Regions from separate parts of the Homo sapiens genome. Here region 2 is linked to region 1. The links are contacts of gene promoters, found by promoter capture Hi-C in blood cells and fetal thymus (Javierre and others, 2016). All regions are on one chromosome and are shown on one strand. The core of a region is centred on a gene start or on the middle of the fragment in contact, and the rest is flanking DNA. Distances in the headings are between cores, read along the strand shown. Region 1 holds the start of ZNF202 (zinc finger protein 202). Region 2 has its middle 12 kb from the start of OR10D3.

What was found. Contacts are between HindIII fragments. The CHiCAGO score rates a contact against its expected background, and 5 or more counts as called.
Region 2: a contact is called between a fragment that was not itself captured here and the fragment with the promoter of ZNF202 in region 1, in 1 of 17 cell types (monocytes). The highest score is 6.2, in monocytes.

What each region holds. Positions count from the first base shown.
Region 1 is chr11:123,738,949-123,745,937 of GRCh38, forward strand. ZNF202 (zinc finger protein 202) reads right to left here and starts at 2,712. Exons shown (of 9, transcript NM_003455.4): 1 at 2,601-2,712; 2 at 1,469-1,588; 3 at 1,169-1,244. RefSeq lists enhancers at 2,098-2,307, 3,297-3,894 and silencers at 2,488-2,617, 2,658-2,707. The HindIII fragment of the contact is 6,844 bases long and covers 152-6,989 here.
Region 2 is chr11:124,192,311-124,199,299 of GRCh38, forward strand. No RefSeq gene overlaps it. Among named protein-coding and RNA genes, the nearest start is that of OR10D3, 12 kb to the left of the region's middle. The HindIII fragment of the contact is 2,903 bases long and covers 1,845-4,747 here.

The DNA of each region.
Region 1 (6,989 bases), core at 1,462-3,961:
CTTGTCGTGGGCATGGCTTAACGTCTGTCTCCCCACTGTGGGCCCTGCCCTCGAGAGCAAGGGTCTCCTTATTCATTTTTATATTCCCAGTGCCTACCACTTTGTGGAGCCCTTAGTAGAAAAGGTATTCAATAAACGCACATTGAGTTTAAGCTTTCTATTTCTCCTCCCCCAACTAGTATATATTACAGAAGCACTGAAAATTCAGAAATCAGCCAGTGTCAGGGCTCCTGGGTAATAAACCATTCACAGGGATAGCTGTAGGAATTTGGCATAAGCATTTATTCCAATCTCTTGGGGGTAATCAAGTGGCATAATCATGCCCTGCTTTACTGTGTAGCATAAGGCCAGTAGAGAAAAACATCAAGAGGGGAGGAGGACAAGGGATGGAGTTCAATACACAAATATCTACTGAGCGTCAATTACGTGTCCCACACTATTCAAGGTGCTGGGCAAAGAAAGATAAAAAAAGCAGAAGCTCTGACCTTGAGGAACTTAACAGGTAGTTAAGAAATTGCAGAATTTTAGCAATACTAGGAATTCACAGCAAAAGCCCAGAATACAGGTGTAATATTTTGATCAAAACGTGAAGCCCCTATCAAGAGAATTAAGAAAATCAAGGGGAAGAACTTATCAATATTTCACCTCAAATTTGGCATATAGCATTCAGTTGTTTTAAGTACGCTTTCTTAATTTTGCGAACAAAATATTCAGACCTAAGTGATTATCTATAAAAGATCAGATTACTAGTTTCCAACACAGAAGTACTCAAACAAAGGTATTCTGAACCTCAACCTACTGCAATACATATATCACATTTGGCCAAAAGGTAGTTGTTCTCAAAGTGAAGAACCCAGATCTGCAGCATCAGTACCTGAGCCTTGTTAGAAGTACAAATTCTCAAGCCCCAGCACAGACCTATTACCAGAAACTCTAGGGGTGGGCCCCAGCAATATGCGTTTAACTAGCCCTTCAGGTGCTTATAGTAAGTTTGAGAACCACCACCTAGCAAATGAAGTAAATCTGAAGTTCATGCAGAAAGCCATTGCTGGCCAAACTAAAGGGTTTGCTGGTGAGAGAACAGCAAAAACAAGGGGTATAGAACTGTTTCACATTTTAAATCTGTGCCAAATTTACTGGGAAAAAAAAATGTAAACCTGTAACTTACCTCATCTGTACAATTTGCAATGGCTGAGTCCCTCACATTGTGGTAAACCTTGTTGTACCCTTGGAATGATTGTCTACTGCAATATAGTATATACACAGAGTACAAAAAGGGTATAGCTGGAGGAGAAAGGGTGAAAGATTATGAATCCCAGGCGTTTGGTCCTAGGAGGAAAAATTCCTGTCCTCTCTCCAACCCTGCCCACCCTCTTATGCTAGATAGTAACAGCAGAAAGTTATCCCAGACTGCTCCGCGTTCACACGCTTCCCACCAACAAACCTCCTCCCAAGGCTATCCCACAACCTTTCTGAAGTAGCTTCCTGGATCAAGCCCCACGGGGCAGCTTGGAAGAGAAGCTGGGAGGGATGAGGGGCTCCACTAGCATTCCTTGTGGCTTCTGAGTGTAGCTGCCCTGGGTGTCACCTGCAGAGCGTGGATAGAGAAAAAGCAACAGTTCTAAGCCCAGCCTCTAATTGAGAGCCTGGGATCTAGCGCTGCTCCCCAGGACCAAGGTTGTTCAAGAAAGGCTGGGTCTAAGAGTCTCCCTCTGGGGAGGTCAGTACAGATTCCAAGGCAGACAGGGTTATCAAAGCGCCTAGAAGATGAGAACATTCATTGTTCAGAAAAACAAAAATTAGACTGACACCTTTCTGAAGGAACACAGCCTATCCATGGCACAAAAACAAATTTTTAATCAAGACACTCAAGAAGTAGGTATACTCCTGCTAAAAGTAACGCAGGTGCTGAGAAGAGGTGCCAAAACTGGCTGTTAGGAGTGGGAGGAGAGGAAAGTTGCAAGTGGAGACAGCAGCTACTGGCTTGAGGGGACCTCAGGGTCTGTCACAGTGGCAGCTGAAAAGCCTCTGGCCAAATGGACGCCAAGGACTACTATCATCACAGGTGACAAGATCACGGGTGAGTGTATCTGGGTGTGTGCTGGGGGGCTGAGGGGGGCTTGGTGGTGTAAGGAGATGGGGCTAGCCGGGGCAAGGAGCCCGCGGAGATGATCTTAAGCAATCTGAGAGGAGGGGTAAGAAAAAGCTGCGGAAAATAAAGGGGCCTAGACCACTCCTCCCTCGGTTCCGGGGGGACAGTTGGCGCGGAAGCGTTAGGAGGTACGAGGTACGGACTAACTACATTTCTGCAGGCCCCAGGAGGGGGCGGAGGGCGGTGGCTGGAAAGGAAAGGAAGCCGGGAGCGCCATCCGTGTCCCCGGAGATACTGGCTCCGGCCACCAGGAAACACAGAGACCACAACGTCTCGGCACCCTCAGTACACCGCCGCCACCCCTTCCCCAGGACACGGCGATTTCCCCAGACTCTGGGGGGCGGGGTCTCCGGTCCCTCCCCCTCCTCCCCGCCCTGCCCGGCTCTGCCCGATCTGGTCCGGCCCGGTCCAGCCCGGCCCGGCCCAGCCCAGCCCACTCAGGACTCACGGCTCCGACAGCTCCGGCGGCTCCTCCCCTGCCCCGGCTTCTCTCCCACCCACTCCCGACCGAAACAGCGCCGCCGGATCCGAGCCGCGCGGGGCCTAGCGGGTCGGAACACGTGGGGCCTTTGCGCCCGGAACCGGAAGCGATCGCTCGCCCCGCCTTCTCGCCGAGTAGGAGCCTTTCTAGGCTGTGGGAGGTTTGATCCTCTCTATGCGCCCTCCGCGGGTTGCGGCTCAGTGCTCCCCAAGGACCCAGTGCGAAGAAGCCTCGGACCCCACAGCTGCCGTCCGCGACCCCTAACTCCACTCTGCAGCGAATAAATTAACATCTTGGGCCTTTCATTTACAGGCATACCTTCTGCAAGGGTTTTCTTTTTCTTTTCTTTTTTCTTTTCTGTTTTTGATCTTTTGTGTGTTTGTTTTCATTTGGATACCTCTACGTGTTTTTCTTGATTTTTTTTTCTTTGCATTGTCCGCTGCAACATGGTAGAAAAGGGCAGCGTTAGGTTTGAATACTGGCTCTTGCAGTCACCATCAGCAGCAGGGCCTCGGCCGAATCTCTCCATCTTTGAACCCTATTGTGCATCATATAAAACGGGCATAATAATACCGTTACTCTGAGGACTAAATGATACATTGCACATGAACTGAATGGAACATCAGAAGCTCAGAAAGAAAATAGTTATGGTATCACTGTTCTTTCTTTTCCTTTGAGTGTTGCTTCGTATTTCTTTACTTTCAGGCTGTCTTCCCTGATCTCATTTGTTCATTTTTGTCCGTTCGGTGACCTTTCTGCCCATACTTGACATTTTCCTTTGCTCTCTGTCCCTTTTACCCTGTAAGTCACCACTCTCCACGTGCCATGTGCCACTTCCTTTTCATGGGACACATTGCTGGGATCTGTTTACTGGGTTTGAACCAAAGGATTAGTTACTTTTGGTGGAGTGGCAGTGTATTAGCGAAACAGAACTAATAGGTGTGAACCCAGAAGGCAGGACAACTCAAAGCGGGGAGGGGGCTTCCAGGTCATAGGTAGATAAGACACAAATGGTTGCATTGAGTTGCTGATTAGCCTCTCCGGAAGGAGGCAATCAGATATGCATTTATCTCAGTGAGCAGAGAGGTGACTTTGAATAGAAGGGGAGGCAGGTTTGCCCTAAGCAGTTCCCAGCATGAATTTTCCCTTTAGTGATTTTGGGGGCCCCAAATCACTTTCCTTTCACACGGGGTATGTATAAACATATAAAAGGAGATTTATTATAAGGAGTTGGCTTACATAATTATGGACGTTGAGAAGTCCCACCATCTGCTTACTGCAAGCTGGAGAAATAAGGAGGTTGGTGGTATAATTCAGTCTAAAGCTGAAGGCCTGAGAACTGGAAAGGGATTGAGGTGCTGGTGTCTGAAGGCCAGAGAGCAGGAGGAGATGATGTCCCAGCTCAAGAAGAGAGAGGTGAATTTACTTTTCCTCTGCCTTTTTATACTATTTGGGCCCTCAATGGATTGGATGGTGCCTACGCATAGTGGTGAGAGTGATTTTCTTTACTCAGTCTACTGATTCAAATGCTAATCTCTCTCTCTTTTTTTTTTTTTTTTTTTTTTTTGGACAGAGTCTTGCTCTGTCGCCCAGCGATCTCGGCTTACTGCAATGTCTGCCTCCTGGGTTCAAGCAATTCTCCTGCCTCAGCCTCCCGAATAGCTGGGATTACAGGCATGTGCCACCATGCCCAGCTATTTTTTTTTTGTGTGTGTGTATTTTTAGTAGAGAGGGGGTTTCACCATATTGGCCAGAAACACCCTCACAGACACACCGACTAATAATGTTTTCTGTTGTCTGGGCATCCCTTAGCTAGTCAAGTTGACACATAAAATTACCCAATACAAAGAGAAATATACATTTCATGAAAGCCTACTGTGTACCAAATATTTTTCTCTGTAAATCTCATTGAATATTTTAAAATATTGGTATTAAGTGCATAAATAATACATAAACATCTTCTTCTAAACATTTAATGCATTACAGTGTTAAAGGAAAAATTATTCAGTGATACTTGTTAGAGCATGGTAAGGGAGACCTTATTCAGGACCAGGAAAGGTAAAGAAACCACTGCAATGAAGTCTTGCTGTAGGGATGAGAGATTGGGCTGAACTCTGAATACAGAATGGGCAAGTGGGAATTTATAGTCAAGGAACTTTTTTTGGAGTTTGGGACGTCGATGGATTGAAAATTACTAAGGGGAAACATCAGGCTTAAGGCGGATTCTGGCTAAGTCAACCTAATAGGATTCTTGCTGAAGACAGGCCAGGTTGATCAGACATCACCTGGGGCGTGATGGAGGATGAGGACACTGACCAGGTATTAAGGATGGTCAGATATCAAGGATGGGGGCGTTCCTGCCAAAGGACTTAGAGTTCTTTGCTAACAGTAGATTTTACAAGGAAGTACGCCGATAGCCCTAGGAGAAGTTTCAGAAGCCTGACAAGTTTGGCGAAGAAAAGAGATTTTGTCAATGGATAAAGCTAATGACTTTTTTTTTTTTTTTGGGACGGAGTCTCACTCTGCCACCAGGCTGGAGTGCAGTGGCACCATCCCGGCTCACTGCAACCTCGACCTCCCGGGTTAAAGCGATTCTCCTGCCTCAGCCTCCCGAGTAGCTGAGACTACAGGCATGCACCACCATGCCCAGCTAATTTTTGTATTTTTAGTAGAGATGGGGTTTCACCATGTTGGCTAGGATGGTCTCAATCTCTTGACCTCCCGATCCACCAGCCTCAGCCTCCCACAAGTGCTGGGATTACAGGCATGAGCCACCATGCCTGGCCGCTAATGACATTTTTACCAACCCTGGCTTCCTCCTCTCTCTCCAGAAGTTAGCTGTTCTTATGACCCTAATGTATTTATCTTCCAGATATTTTTATTTTCATGTGCTGTGTACATATGTATCCACAGAAAGTACATAGTATTATTTTCTGTGTACTTGTGTGTATACCTGTGTGTTCATGTTGAATTCTTCCATTTGTTTTCTCTTAGCAGTGGGCCTTGGAGATCTGTTGATAGCGGTAAATAAAAATCTCCCTTATTCCTTCTGCTTTCTGCATAACATTCCATAGTCTGAATAGCAATTTGCCTGTTGAAAACATAAGTTTTTATAATTGTTGGGATTACAAACAATGCTATAATGATCACCCTCTTTGTGCGTACATGCAATGGTACTCTGAGACGGATACTGAGAAAGAGTATTGCTGGGTCAAAGGTTGCACACTTTTAATGAATACTGCCAAGTTTTCCTCCCAAATGAATGCACCTGTTTACACCCTTAACAACAGTATACAAGATTTTTTCCCTGTATCCATGCCCTTACCTCATGTTGCCGGAATTGTAAATCTCAGCCAGTTTAATGGGCAAAAATAATATCTAATTGTTTTACTTTGCCTTCCCATCGTTAATGGTGAGACTGAACTTTCTTTCATACATTTGTTGGTAATTTGTAGTTTTCCTGTGAGTTTTATTTTTATATTGGACTTTTTGTTTTTTTAAATTGGTTGTTAGATGTTCTTTATGTATCCTAGATCCTAATGATTTTACGTATATATTGCAAGAGATATATTAATTTTATGTGTCTTGACTAAGTTCATGAAAGCCTGCTGTGTATAAGATGTTTTTCTCTATAAATCTCATTGAATATTTTTAAATATTAATATTAAATTAATGTTTTCCTTAACTTTCTAGATTATTGTCTAACTTTGTAGTATTAAAGTTTCAAATCTGATACACTCTTTCCCCCGCTTCAAATTAGGTGTTTTATTTAAGAATATCTTTTCTGCACCAAAGTCATAAAGGCTTCTCCTGTATGTTCTTCTACTACTTTTTGCTTTTCCTTTTTATGGTTAGATTTGGAATTTATTTTTGTGAATGATATAAATTGGGGATTCTAATCTAATATCAGTGGTAATCAATTTCTACTTGGAAAACATGGAGTATGAGATATTTACATAATAGAGGATATATTTACATACAAAAGATATATTCCATATGTGATGTGATCAGAATTCTGTCAGCGCAGTTAGCTGGTCCTTCATTTGTCAATGATTTTTTGAGTGACTGCTCTTACAAGACACTGTGGTAGGTATATGGAACAGAATGGAGAATAAGAAAGACGTAATATCTGTTCTCGATCTAACTTTCAACTGGTGTGTGTGTGTATGATATGAAGGAGTTGGGGAAGAAGAAAACAGTTTAAATAACTTACGCAATTCACTAACTGTGGTTATTTAATTATGATTAATTAAATTAATTATAATTATTGTAAGTTCTCCAGAGAAATACAGAGTGCTACAAGAACTTGTTACTGGAGGTCCTAATCCTGGTGGTGGTGCTGTTAGAGAGGTAGTT
Region 2 (6,989 bases), core at 2,046-4,545, 450 kb after region 1:
GTGATGGCTGCTCTCCACCTCTTTCATCAGATCTGTTCTGTAGCTTTGCTTACTTCTGTGGGAAGTTTGCTGCATACTTCAGGACTTGATCCTTCCCCCAAAACTTCATCTAATGAAATTATTCACTTCATGATTCTTAGTTGTGACCCATACACTGTTCATTTCTCCTTGAGCTCATGGGCAGGGTCTCCGGATAAATCTTAGATATTATGAAGAAAAATACCTGGATCTAAGTCTGCTTTGTTATGGGGAAAATTATGAGAGTAATTCTACTTATCTCATGGAACCGTTGTGAAAATTACATAAGAAAGTATATCATCAATCAACAAGTGAATAAAGAAAAGGTTATATATATATATATACACACACATATACACACACACACACACACACCGTGAAATGGTGTATATACAGTATACACTATTGTATATATACAATGGAATATACTACTATATTATATATTATATATATTTTATATATTATAATTATTATATATAATATATATAATATATATAACATATATATATCATGAAATACTACTCAGCCCCATAAAAATAAATGAAATAATGGCATTCGCAGTAACCTGGATGGAATTGGAGACTATTATTCTAAGTGAAGTGACTCAAGAATGGAAAATCAAACATCACATGTTCTCATTCATATGTGGGAGCTAAGCTATCAGGATGCAAAGGCATAAGAACAATGAATTGGACTTTGGGGACTCAGGGTAGGGGGTGGTGAGGGATAAAAGACTACACACTGGATACAGTGTACACTGCTCGGGTGATGGGTGCACCCGTCATCACCCATCAGCACTCTCAGAAATCACCACTAAAGAACTTACTCATGTAACCAAACACCACCTGTTCTCCAAAAACCTATTGAAATAAAAAAGCTAAAAATTTTAAAAAGAAAGCAAATAAATGCAAGATTGTGAGATGTCTTATCATTTTAAAAAATAATGAAGTAAAAGGCAATACAACTATTCAAACAATTATGTAAATAAATTCTGTTTTGCATTTTAAAGAGAGAGAGAGAAAGAGGGAAATAGAGTTTCTCAAAGGAGGAAGTCTTTATACGTAACAGATTCACTGAGGTTAAGCTCTCTTTTGAGTATAGCTCAAGAGTGGAAGGGCCTGACTAGTTAGGTTTTGTTTTGGTCCCGCCACCTTAAATAATTAATCCCGGGTGAGAGTAGTCAACCCTGTTCCTCAATAGGGCATTTCAATACCTTTTTCTTTTAAATTTTAAACCACAGTCATCTAGTTACAAATATTTCTGAAAAAAACTAACCTAATTGCTTATATTTCTCAATCATGATTTCATTTCTGTAATTTCACTTTGTTTTTTTAACTGCTGCCAGTTTTGCCATATAAAACATTGACAAAATCATTTTGCTCTCTTGCTAAAAATTTCTTTGGTATGTTTCCATTTCCTATTGATGTCAAGGCTGACTATATTGAGTTTAACATTTGAAGCTTTTTAACATCTGGTTCTGATCTCTGTCACCAATTTTATTCCTATTTCTCTTTTATTTTTGACTTCTCCACAAGCCAACTCAAACTCCTTTGTAATTTTCCAAACCAACGCTGACAACATGGTCTGGATTCTCCAGTTCAGTCCTAAATTAAGCTATTCTGTTGCCGTGTTAGGCCATGTTTCTCACATTGTGCTCTATCGTGGATCCTGAATTTTGGTGTATTTCTCACATATTCCCTGCTTTTGATGACTCTGAGTCCTAGTCTTCATGTGGCCTCTGTTTGGGATGTCAGTTTCGTTGTTCTCCATAGGACCAAATTATGCTCATTTTTCAGGACACCATCCAAACATTGTTTTCTTGCCAAAGCTTTCCTTAATGCTCCAAGCTAAAAGAAATGTTTCTCCTTTGAAATCTCATTTTCTTTGGAAGTACATATACTCTTGACAAATACCACCCATCTGAGAAAAAACAGTATGAGTGAAGTGAAATAGGATGACCATAGTTTTTAACTAAACAGAATACAAAGATCTAGAAATTTATATGAAATAGTAAGACCAGAGTCAACCTTACAGTAGTAGATCTGATGTTCAGTTTCAGCAAGTTTGTAATGAGAGTTTGAAGTACACTCACAAACTCTGATAAGTAGTTACATTTATGATGACATGAAAACTCAAGACATTTATTGCTAACTGATCCATAGTGGTTGTGACAATTGGGGAACAAAGGTCACCCCTAAGACAATATATACTCAATATGTCTCAACTGTATGCTTCATTTTAGAGAACAGCAATCTTTGATAATTTTTCATATAGTTCTAGTTATAGCTGTGCATTTAGATAAAGGGAAGTAGTAAACATACAGGGTATGTTAGATTTTAGAATTGTATATTGTAAATTCGTAATGAATCTGAGAATATGAATTTGCCACTCCTGGTCATAAGAATGTTTTCTTGTTTTGATTCTTAGCAACCTAGGAGCTGAAAAACTTGGAATTTCCCTTTGACGGATATGCCAGTAATAGGATTTAATCCCCTCCCTCTTTAGAGTCTCATGTTCCTGTAATATGAGAAAAGGGGTGACTGCATTGGGCTCCGTGCCTCTGGGCAAGCTCTCTATCACAACATGGGAATGTTAAGCGCATAACCTACCAAACTGAAAGCAAGTCACTGGGCACAGTCTCCATTGCAAGTCCCGGAGGGTGGAAGGGAGGTCTGATCAAGAATGAGAAACTTGCTTTTGTCCTCTCCTTGCCTTTTTGGCTGTGATCCAAAAGAAGGACATGCAGGCTCTCCTAGAATCTTCAAATCATCCCTAGTTCTTCTGATCTTTTCCCCGGTCTCTGTCCCTGCACTAATATGACAGCCATGGTCCCTATCTCCTATTTAGTCTATATTAGCTCTACAGATAGGATTCTGGCAGCATGTTAGTTATGTGATGCAGTCTAAGAAGTCAGTAGCTGGACAACAAATTGTGCCAGCCTGGAGGCCACATGATAATCCGTATTCTGCAAACTGTGCTCTATCGCCCCCTGATGGACATAGGATCATCTCCAACCTTAGCACAGAACGACCAGTTCTCCTTGGCTTTAGGGGTAATCATGATGTGTGCTTTTGGAAGGGCAGGGACAGAAGAGGAAATTTGTTTTACAAGTTCATTGGTAATTTGGAAGAAATGACAACCTCTGCATAGATATTTACACGCAGAGTAGATCTGATCATGTTAATTCCCATGCATTAAAATATTTTATGTCTCCTTACTAACTTTAGAGTAAAATCTACTCTAATATGATATACAATGATTTTTATAATCTGTCTGTATCTCAGTGCCCAGTCTCATGGCCTTGTCCATTTTTCCCATCAGGCCTTACACTCTAAACTCACCAAATTATTTGTCATTTTTCCAAAACTAACTATATCAAACTTTGGTATATTTGGATAGGCTGTTTCCACTCTCTGGGATGCAATTCATTGTTTTCAAAATCTGTCAAAATTCTCCTGCAAAAAGTCTGACTTGATACTGGTGAGAAGACATAGGCTATGCTTCCTCTGTATTCTAATTTTAGATGATAAATACCGTAATATTTCACCTTACATTACATTGCACTTTCCAGGCTGTGTTTCTAATTTCTACGTATGTTATACTTCACATATGCTGAAGGGACTCAATTAAAAGAAGATAAACTATACATACATTATCAAATAATGGAGAAGATATAATTTATATTTCAAAATATAAAATATATTCCAAAATATAAAATTTTTCGAACAATAGTATACAAAATTACATGTAGGTTTAAAATTGAATCGAACATGTAGAAACATATCAACATGATCATTTCAAACATGTAATGAAATAAGTTACAATTAATGCAAAGAAAATTGAACTAATAAATATAGATCCTTAATGTGACTATTAATTTTGAAAAATATAGTATACAATGTGACATGATGATACCATTTTATATCTACTGAATAAGCAAACTAATATTAAATAGTAAATAATCAAACTATATATTAACAAAGCTACAGAAGCCCCACAACATTTTTACACTACTGGTAGCATTTATTGATTTATGTGTTCATTCCAGGAGTATTTATTATCTATTCTATGTTTTGTATAGTGACAGGAGTTGAATTTACAAGTCCAACAAGGCATTTACCCTACCCCTGAAGGTGATGATTGCAACAATATATGAACACGCAGGATTTTATGACAGCACTTAAGAGGAATACCTGTCTCAAAATGGGGAGAGATATGAGAAAAAAACATGCAATAAGGGAATAAATATTAAATTTTATAACAGATAATAAAAGTCAGCTCTGCAAAAAAAAAAAAGTCATGGAGGAAGAAAAAGAGCAGGATTTGTGAAAGTACAAAGGAATAAAGCAGCATGGTTCATTCAGAAGTTTAAAACACATTGGTAACATCCTTCAGAAAAGGAACTTTTAAATACAAATAAGATAAATTGATATGTTTATATACTTTGGCCCTAGGAGTCTAATATTGAGAAATTATTCTAAAGGAAAAATATATGTAATGCCAATTCATTTCAAATGGCAAGAACAATGGCATTTAAATATTCAGATATGGATAACATTAGGCAAAATATAATGTGTTGACTTAATAAAACATATGGTCATTATTATTGGCTATCAAAATTATTTTAGCAGCATGGAAAAAGGATTATAGAATAATTTAAGTTAAAAGAACAAAATAGTACATTTCTCTTACTAGGTCTTAAAGATAGTCTCTTGTATTCTTTTCTAGAAGCTTTATAGCTTAATTTTCTCTGTATCTATGACCCATCTCAAATTAATTTTTGTTTGTGGTCTGGAGTAAAGATTGATGTTCATTTTGTCCCCATGTGAATATTCAGTTGTTTCAGCATAATTTGTTTAAGAGACATCTTTTCCTACTGAGCTGCTATGAGGTTTCAGTCGAAGAATGATGGGTGGGGCTACTTTGGACTTTCTCTTCTATTTCTTTGATCTGTCTATTCTTATGTCAATTTCACATTGCATTGATTATGGCAACTTTACAGATAATCTTTTTTTCCTTTGTCGGTTTAAAAACATTTTATTTTATAGGCATACAATTTTAATTGCCTATATTTCAGGTGTATAACATCATGTTTTGTTATCCTTGTACGTAAACACAGTGAAATGATGACTACAGTGAAGCAAATCAACATTTCTTCACATTTACTTTTGTTTGTGTAAAAGGACCTGAAATCTACCATCTTGGCAAATTTACAGGATAAAATATGTGATATGCACATTAGTCTTATTTATCCTACATAACTGCAACTTTGTACCCTTTGACCTACATCTCCTCATCTTCCCCCAACCTGGTCCTGCCCCTAGTAACAACCTTTCTACTCTGTTTCTGTGTATTCAGTTTTTTAGATTCTACATATGTGAGATCATGAAATGTTTTTATTTCTGTACCTGTTTTATTTCTGTTTTTTCACCAGCTTTATTGCGGTATGATTGACAAATAAAAATTGCATATATTTAGGTTATACAATGTGATGTTTTTATATACACATACATTGTGAAATGATTACCAAACTCAAGATAATTAACATATTCATCACCTCACATAGTTAGATTTTTTTGTATATAGTGAGAACACTTGAAATCTGCTTTCTTGGCAAATTTAAGATATAAAATGCGTTATTATTAGCTATAGTCATGATGCTGTACTTTAGATCTCTATTACTTGTTTGTCTTATAACTGAAGGTTTGTACCCTTTGGCCAATATCTTCCCCTTTCCCTGACCCATGTCCCTGGCAACCACCATTCTACTCTGTTACCATGAGTTCAACTTTTATTTTTTTAGATTCCACATATCAGGGAGATTATGCAGTATTTGTCTTTCTGTTTGGCTGATTTCACTTAGCATAGTGTACTCCAGGTTCACCCATGTTGCTGTAAATGGAGGGAACTCCATCTGTCAATGAACACTTAGGTTGTTTCTGTATCTTGGCTACTGTGAATAATTCTGCAATGAACCTGGGAATGCAGATACTTCTACGAGCTATAGTAATCTGCCCTGATCCTCGGGGAATACATTCCAAGACCCTCAGTGGGTACCTAAAACAGATACAGACAGGAGGCAGGGAATACTGGGTTGAAAGGGTGGAGTCTCTGGCGAGGGTTCCACCCTTAAGCCTGGACTCATGGCCCTAAATGAGAACTTCACATCCCAATTTTCCCGCCGGAATGTTGCTTTTTCCAAAACCACCCTGTCCTGCTCTGCCCCACACCCTGTACCCATAAAAATCCCAAGCTCCTCTAGCAGAGAAGCACAGCATAGTGGCAGAGAAGGAGAGAAGAGAAGAAGCAGCTGGACTTTGGAGAAAAGCAGCTTGACTTTGGAGGGAAGGCTTGATGGTGGGACTTCAGAGAAGAGATTGACTGTCCCCAGGCGGGACTCCAGGGGAAGATTATCTTCCCACTCCATCCCCCTTCCAGCTCCCCTTCCCTCTGAGAGCCACCTTCACTACTCTATAAAATTTTCCACATACACCACCCTTCAATTCATTCATGTGACCTGATTCTTCCTGGATGCTGGACAAGAACTCAGGTACCAAGAGGGCAGGGTGTAAAAGGCTGTCACCCTGACCCTCCACTGAGCTGGTTAGCACTTAGCCATCTGTGAATGACAAATACTAAAAGCACTGATTGTAACACATGCCCTCTAGGGATCTGGGGTTTGTTGACACCCCCTCCCAGACAGCAGAGCTAAAAGAGCATTGTAACACGCTTGGACGCTGCCACAGGGCCCACACACAGCCTGCTTCTGCCAGAGAGGAGTGACCAGCCTATTCCGGCATTCATTCACTTCAGTTCCTGCACCCATTGGCTTGTGTGCTCCCTCCGGTAAGGGATTGATGGTGGCAGTTGAGCAAACGAGTCACCGCTTCATGAGTCGCATGAAGGGGTCAAGGGAAATACCCAATCTCAAAACCATGAATAGTACCAAACCCTATATATTTTATGTTTTT